2 separate regions of the Homo sapiens genome follow, and region 1 is linked to region 2. Evidence: promoter capture Hi-C in 16 types of primary human blood cells and fetal thymus (Javierre and others, 2016). All regions are on one chromosome and are shown on one strand. Each heading gives the region's core, a stretch centred on a gene start or on the middle of the fragment in contact. The rest is flanking DNA. Distances are from core to core; before and after follow the strand shown.

Evidence for each region. The method cuts DNA at HindIII sites, captures the fragments that hold promoters and counts their contacts. A CHiCAGO score of 5 or more calls a contact.
Region 1: a contact is called between a fragment that was not itself captured here and the fragment with the promoter of DHX58 in region 2, in 2 of 17 cell types (monocytes and M1 macrophages). The highest score is 6.0, in monocytes.

What each region holds. Positions count from the first base shown.
Region 1 is chr17:41,978,860-41,982,170 of GRCh38, forward strand. DNAJC7 (DnaJ heat shock protein family (Hsp40) member C7) reads right to left here. Exons shown (of 14, transcript NM_003315.4): 12 at 2,996-3,148. Among named protein-coding and RNA genes, the nearest start is that of CNP, 14 kb to the left of the region's middle. The HindIII fragment of the contact is 4,055 bases long and covers 1-3,311 here.
Region 2 is chr17:42,110,601-42,114,110 of GRCh38, forward strand. DHX58 (DExH-box helicase 58) reads right to left here and starts at 2,114. Exons shown (of 14, transcript NM_024119.3): 1 at 2,005-2,114; 2 at 1,513-1,605; 3 at 1,125-1,293; 4 at 696-897; 5 at 123-313. The coding sequence starts at 1,292. KAT2A (lysine acetyltransferase 2A) reads right to left here. Exons shown (of 18, transcript NM_021078.3): 17 at 3,400-3,484; 18 at 2,511-3,242. The coding sequence ends at 3,049. RefSeq lists enhancers at 1,622-1,721, 1,962-2,481. The HindIII fragment of the contact is 8,851 bases long and covers 1-2,525 here.

The sequences.
Region 1 (3,311 bases), core at 149-2,648, 130 kb before region 2:
ACAGAGTGAGACTCCGTCTCAAAACAAAACAAAACCTCTTCACTAGTTTTTGACTGCTTATAGATCTTCTTAACTGCTAGGCAGAGGAACATGTTTATTGTGGTGAACCTAGGTTTATTAAACACAAATACCCCCACACTGAACTGGAGAGGACTCAGCATTATCTATATAGTACCATCATTCTTATTTTAAATTCCGGCTGGGTGCGGTGGCTCACGCCTGTCATCCCAACACTTTGGGAGGCCAAGATGGGCGGATCACACAAAGTCAGGAGTTTGAGACCAGCCTGGCCAACATGGTGAAACCCCGTCTCTACTAAAAATATAAAAATTAGCCGGGTGTGGCTGCAGGTGCCTGTAATCCCAGCTACTCAGGAGGCTGAGGCAGGAGAATTTCTTGAACCTGGGAGGTGGAGGTTGCCGTGAGCTGAGACTGCACCACTGCACACCAGCCTGGGTGACAGAGTAAGACCATGTCTCAAAAACATAACAACAAAAAAAAATTAAATAAATAAATAAGTTGCAATGGAAGGCCAGGCACAGTGGCTCACGCCTGTAATCCCAGCACTTTGGGAGGCCAAGGCCAGTAGATCACTTGCGGTCAGGAGTTCAAGACCAGCCCGGCCAACATGGTGAAACCCTGTCTCTACTAAAAATATAAAAATTAGCTAGGCATGGGGGTGGATGCCTGTAATCCCAGCTGCTCAGGAGGCTGAGGCAGGAGAATTGCTTGAACCCTGGAGGCAGAGGTTGCAGTGAGCCAAGATGGCACTACTGCACCCAGACTGGGCTCAGTCTTAAAAAAAAAAAAAAAAAAAAAAAGGCCGGGCGCGGTGGCTCACGCCTGTAATTCCAGCCCTTTGGGAGGCCGAGGTGGGTGGATCACGAAGTCAGGAGTTCCAGATCAGCCTGGCCAATATGGTAAAACCCCGTCTCTACTTAAAATACAAAAATTAGCTGGGCGTGGTGGCGCACACCTGTAGTCCCAGCTACTCGGGAGGCTGAGGCAGAAGAATCACTTGAACCCTGGAGGCGGAGGTTGCAGTGAGTCGAGATGGTGCCACTGCACTCCAGCCTGGGTGACACAGCAAGACTCCGTCTCAAAAAACAAAACAAAACAAAAAACAAAATCCCAATAGATTTTCTTAGTGGAAGAGATGGTAGGTCTGTTCACCATTCACAGGTCAGGTCCTCTTTTTTTTTTTTTTTTTGAGACAAGTCTTGCTCTGTCGCCAGGCTGGAGTGCAGTGGTGCGATCTCAGCTCATTGCAACCTCCGCCTCCCGAGTTCAAGCGATTCTCCTGCCTCAGCCTCCCAAGTAGCTGGGACTACAGGCGTGCGCCACCATGGCTAGCTAATTTTTGTATTTTTCATAGAGACGGGGTTTCACCATGTTGGGCAGGATGGTCTCAATCTCTTGACCTTGTGGTCCGCCCACCTTGTTCTCCCAAAGTGATGGGATTACAGGCGTGAGCCACCATGCCCAGCAAATTTTTTGGCAGACAACTTAGAGTGAAGACTGACTGAATTAATTAATTAATTTTTGAGATGGAGTCGCACTCTGTAACCCAAGCTGGAGTACAGTGGCGCAATCTCAGCTCACTGCAACCTCTGCCTCCTGGGCTCAAGAGTTTTTGGTGCCTCAGTCTCCTGAGTAGCTTGGACCACAGGCATGCACCACCATGCTCAGCTAATTTTTTTGTATTTTAGTAGAGAGTACAATTTTTTTGGTATTTTGTATGTTGCCCAGGGTGGTCTTGAACTCCTGAGCTCAGGTGATCTGCCCGCCTTGGCTTCCCAAAGTGCTGGGATTACAGGCGTAAGCCACCGCGCCCAGCTCACAGGTCAGGGCCTCTTATCTCTGACAGCCCACAGTGAGCAACAATATTGACAATAGGTGTGCTTTATATCATGCTAAATCTTTTTGGGAAATTAAAATCTGTGAGTGTTTATAGGAATGTATGACATACATAAATGTCAGCATACACTTTGCAGTGGGTAAAAAAGAACTTCCAGATAATAGGAAAATGCTCATATTCCTTACCACATACAGCCCTTATGGCCTGTGAGCTCTGATCCAGCTACTTGCCGGCCTTCCACCACCACCTGCCTCTAGCACCCTATCCCTTTATCTTCCCTAGACCAAGCCCCCTGCAGATCCCCAAAGAGGCCATGCTTTGCTTTTTTAGTGGGGAGGGATGGAGTCTCACTCTGTTGCCCAGGCTGGAGTGCAGTAGCGCCATCTTGGCTCACTGCAACCTCCACCTCCCGGGTTCAAGTAGCTGGGATTACAGGTGTGCACCACCACACCTGGCTAATTTTTCTTTTTTCTTTCTTCTTATTATTTTTTTTAATTGAGACAAAGTCTTGCTCTGTCGCCCAGGATGGAGTACAGTGGGACAATCTCGGCTCACTGCAACCTCCGCCTCCTGGGTGCAAGCGATTCTCATGCCTCGGCCTCCCGAGTAGCTGGGATTACAGGCGCCCACCACCACACCTGGCTAATTTCTGTATTTTAGTAGAGACGAGGTTTCACCATGTTGGCCAGGCTGGTCTCAAACTCCTGACCTGGTGATCAACCTGCTTTGACCTCACAAAGTGGTGAGATTACAGGCATGAGCCACCGCGCCCAGCCTAATTTTTGTATTTTTAGTAGAGACAGGGTTTCACCATGTTGGCCAGGCTGGTCTCAAACTCCTGACCTCAAGTGATCTGCTTGCCTTGGCCTCCCAAAGTGCTGGGATTACAGGCATGACCCATGGGGCCATGCTTTTCTGCACTTCCAAGCCTTCCCTTGCTAGTGCTCGCCTCCTCAGAGCTCACTGCACACTGTGAACCTGCCACATTTGACTGCATTTGTTTGACTCCATGTCTATTACTGTTTGGACCAGGGATCAGATTTGGCCCAAATAGACTCTCCCTCTGGAGCATCTTTGGAAAAAATTCTAACATTCTACAGCTGTCAAATTCATCCCAGGCTGCCCCAGCCAACTCACCACCCATATTCATGCCCTCCTCATCTAGGTCCTGTCCACTGTCATAGCGAGTCTTTTTCTTGGGATCAGAGAGGATAGTAAAGGCCTCTCCAACTTCCTTGAACTTCTTCTCCTCCTCCTTCTGAACCTCAGCACTGGCTCCACTATGCCGATCTAAAGTGGGGAGTAAAAGAACAACTCAGTGGAAATCAAAGTTTCAAGAAAACAAAGTTTAAGAGAAAAACTACTTTCTGTCTAATTTTGGAATTTGGCACTTCCCAAAATTTGGAGGGTCCACAAGTCTGCAACACCTTATTCTCAGCTGAAGGACCTCTCC
Region 2 (3,510 bases), core at 864-3,363:
CCAGACCCTGCCATGGAGAGCCTGGTAGGGCTGGTGGGGACGGGGTAGTGGCAGGGCAGGCAGGGAGGGAGGGAAGTCCCTGGTGGGTCTGGCAGTGGGAGGCCCACAGGGGCCAGGCTGACCTGCAGGACGTGGTTGATGGCCCCATCGAGTTTGGAGGCCCCGCCAGTGCCTGGGGAGGCTGTGAGACCCAGCACCTGGGGTAGCGGCTGTGCCCTCTGGAGTTTAAGTTCTAGGTACTGGCTCATGATGACGTTGTAGACGGTGTCCTTGTGCGTGTGGTGGCACTCATCCACCACGATCAGGGAGAAGACTGAGGGCACAGGGGGGAAGGCTGTGACCTATGTTTGCAAAGCCCTTCCTCCCATCAGCTTTCAAGTAGTCCCCACAATGATGTAAGAATTCCTTCTTCCCTTCACAACCTGCAGCTGGTCCCAGGATGAGGAGCCAGGCAGGGAAGACTTCTTTCCATTTCACAGATTAGTAAACCGAGGCTCAGCTGGGGAAGGGACTGGCCTAAGATCCTACACGATAGCCCGGCCTGTTTCTACTAGAGTGCCTGCAGGGGTTTTGTGAACAGGCAACCCCTCACTCCCACTAAAACTCCCAACACCTTGACTCCAGGAGGTGCCCTGGGGTTGGCGAAAGGAGGTACCCCAGATGCGTATCTTTTTCCTCCCGGCCATGGCCCTCACCAGTGAGCTCCACGTGCTCCTCCTCCTCGGGGCTGGTCAGTGCCATCTGCAGAAGCTCTGCTGTGCAGATGAGCAGGTCATGGCACCGGGCCAGGTGGCCAAAGCCAGCACGTGGTCCCATGTCCCCACTCAGGGTTGTCACGGTCCAGCGTCCATCCAGCATGCGCCTGAACTCTTCACCATGCTGGGTCACCAGGTGCACCTGGGGGTGGAGAATGAGCTGGGAAAAGAGAGCTGAATCTGGGGCCAGGGGTAGGGAGGCGGTAAGGTGACCCGCAGGACATGGCTGGGTACTGAGCCAGGGTGGAAAGACAGGTGAGCTTAGCGATGGCCACAGCAGCTTTGGAGTTCTGGTGGGGACTGGGAGATGCCTGAAGAGCTAAGACCCTGCTTGGTGGTGGGAGAGCGGGGTAGGGACAGACCACTCACCCTGTTGACCAATACAACCACCTTGGCTCCATCCACAGTCTCTAGGTGCCGCTTGGCCACATAAGCAGCCGCCCGGGTCTTCCCGGCACCCGTGGGCAGCCAGATGATGATATTCTTGCCCTCCAGGGCAGGCATGATCACCTCCCATTGGTAGGACCGAAGCTCCATTCTGGGAATGGCAGGGGACTCAGACCCACCGACTCCTCCACCCCTCCCAACTCCTGGCCAGACCAGTCAGTACAGAGACCTCCCTTTGCCCAGGACTCCACCCCACTTGAGGGAGGTGGGGCAGGACTCCCTCAGAACCCATCAGGACCCTGCTCTGCCCAAAAGGGGGAGGCGGGAGTAACACAGGCTACACCTGCCCCCTGCCCAGCCCAGGACTCACCTGCTCTAGTAGGTAGGTCTGCCCAGGGCAGTCCCACTTAACTCAGCCTGGTGCCACTCTGCTCAGCTCAGAGACCCAAGATGGAAACTGAAACTGAGGGAAGGAGCCAGCTGAGCCGACTTAGGAATCTCCCATCCCCGCCCCAGGAAAAAGAACCAAGAGAAAAGAACCGTTTGTGCTAACAGTCATCGCCAACTGCCGTGAGTACAAACTCCGGTTAAGTACTGCTGCTGCGCCAGCGCCCTGGCAGGCATGATCACCTCCCATTGGTAGGGCCACAGCTCCATTCTGGGAATGGCAGGGGACTCAGACCCACTGGGCCCTCCACTCATCCCAACTCCTGGCCAGAGCAGTCGGTACAGAGACCTCCCTTTGCCCAGGACTCCACCCCACTTGAGGGAGGTGGGGGGGGGGACACCCTCAAAACTCATCAGAAGCCTGCTGTGGCCAAAAGGTGGGGGTGGGGGGGGGTGGGAGTAACACAGGCTACACCTGCGCCTTGCCCAGCCTGGGTCTCGCCTGCACCACCACGTAGGCCTGCCCAAGGCGGCCCTGCTTAGCTCAGCCTGGTGCCGCTGTGCTCAGCGCAGAGAGCAGAAATCAGAAATGGAAACTGAAACTGAGGGGAGGAGCCAGCTGAGCCGACTTACGAATCTCCTATCCCTGCCCCAAGAAAAAGAACCACGTGTGCTAACAGGGAAGCACTCTTTCAGTGCTACAGGATCCTCTACGCTCTGGCCCTTCTGCAGTCAGTTGTAACCACATCCACCCAGGTTAAGGTGAAGGCAGGAGGTTCTGACCCCTGCTGCCCTGGCATCTGGATCAGGAGCAGCCTGGAGGAGGGAGAGGTGGGGGGCTGCAGGCAGGTAGGACCCATCACCCCAGGAGCACAGGACCAGGCCTGAGGCTTGCTGGGGAGAGCAGCCTCCAGTTTGCAAGAGGTCCCTGGGGGCCAAGGTGAGCCTGCTAAGGCTGGGACTACACCAAAGAAACAATCACACAGAGAAATAAAAAGCTTTATTATTCCCTCTAAGGGATTAATGCCAGGGAATGAATGGTCCCCATACCCCCCACCCCTGGGGGAGACTGACAGAACAGTGCTGGACAAGGCATGGCCCCCTTCAGTTTGGGCTGAACTTCCAACCCCTGAAGCCATCACTCAAGCTAAAATGAGCAGTTCTGGTCCTCAGGGAAACAGCCACCTGGGCCAGGCCCAGGAATCCAAGCCTCCAAAGCTCTTGGGGACCAGGCCTGGGGGCCACCACGGCTGGGCAAGGTTCATCCCTGGCCACCAGCTACTCTAGAGGGGCTGGGCCCCAACCCAGGAGACCTCTCACACACAGTGAAGGCTGGGACAGAGCTGCACGCTTGGGGGTGCCTGAAGGTCCAGAAAGAGCTGCAGGATCGGGTCCGGAGGACCCTTGGCTGGAGTGTCTCAAGCTGAGTCGGGTCCGTGGGGCCAGGGCACCCCCTAAGGATCAGATCAGAATCCGAGGTGGAGACATTCCAGGTCAGGGCTGCGGCCCAAAGATGGGCCTACTTGTCAATGAGGCCTCCCTCCTTGAGCTTGAAGTAGAAGAACTTCTCCAGGGCGCTGGCACAGCGGCAGTACTCGCTGTCCGGGGGGTTGTACTCGCGACAGTTGGCGATGACCCGCTGCAGGTCGGCCACAAAGAGCTTCCGGGTCACGTAGTAGCGGCTTCGCAGCCGCTCAGTCATGGTCTTCAGGTCTGGGGCAGCAGGAGACGGAGCACAGCTTTAAGAGGCTGAAGACCACGGCAGGGCTGTCCACCAGGGTGGGCCCCCTGGGGCTGCAGGGCGCAGTGAGGGCAGGAGCAGGTGTGGGGACAGAAGAGGAGGGAAGGGGATGGAATGGAAGGTCCTCACCAATGGGGAAGCGGATGACCTCGTAGTAGTCAGGGGCCTCCGACTTCTTCACAGGCTCCATGAAGGGCCAGGCACTGGGGTGAGACTGGAGAGAAGAGCCGGGCTGGGGAC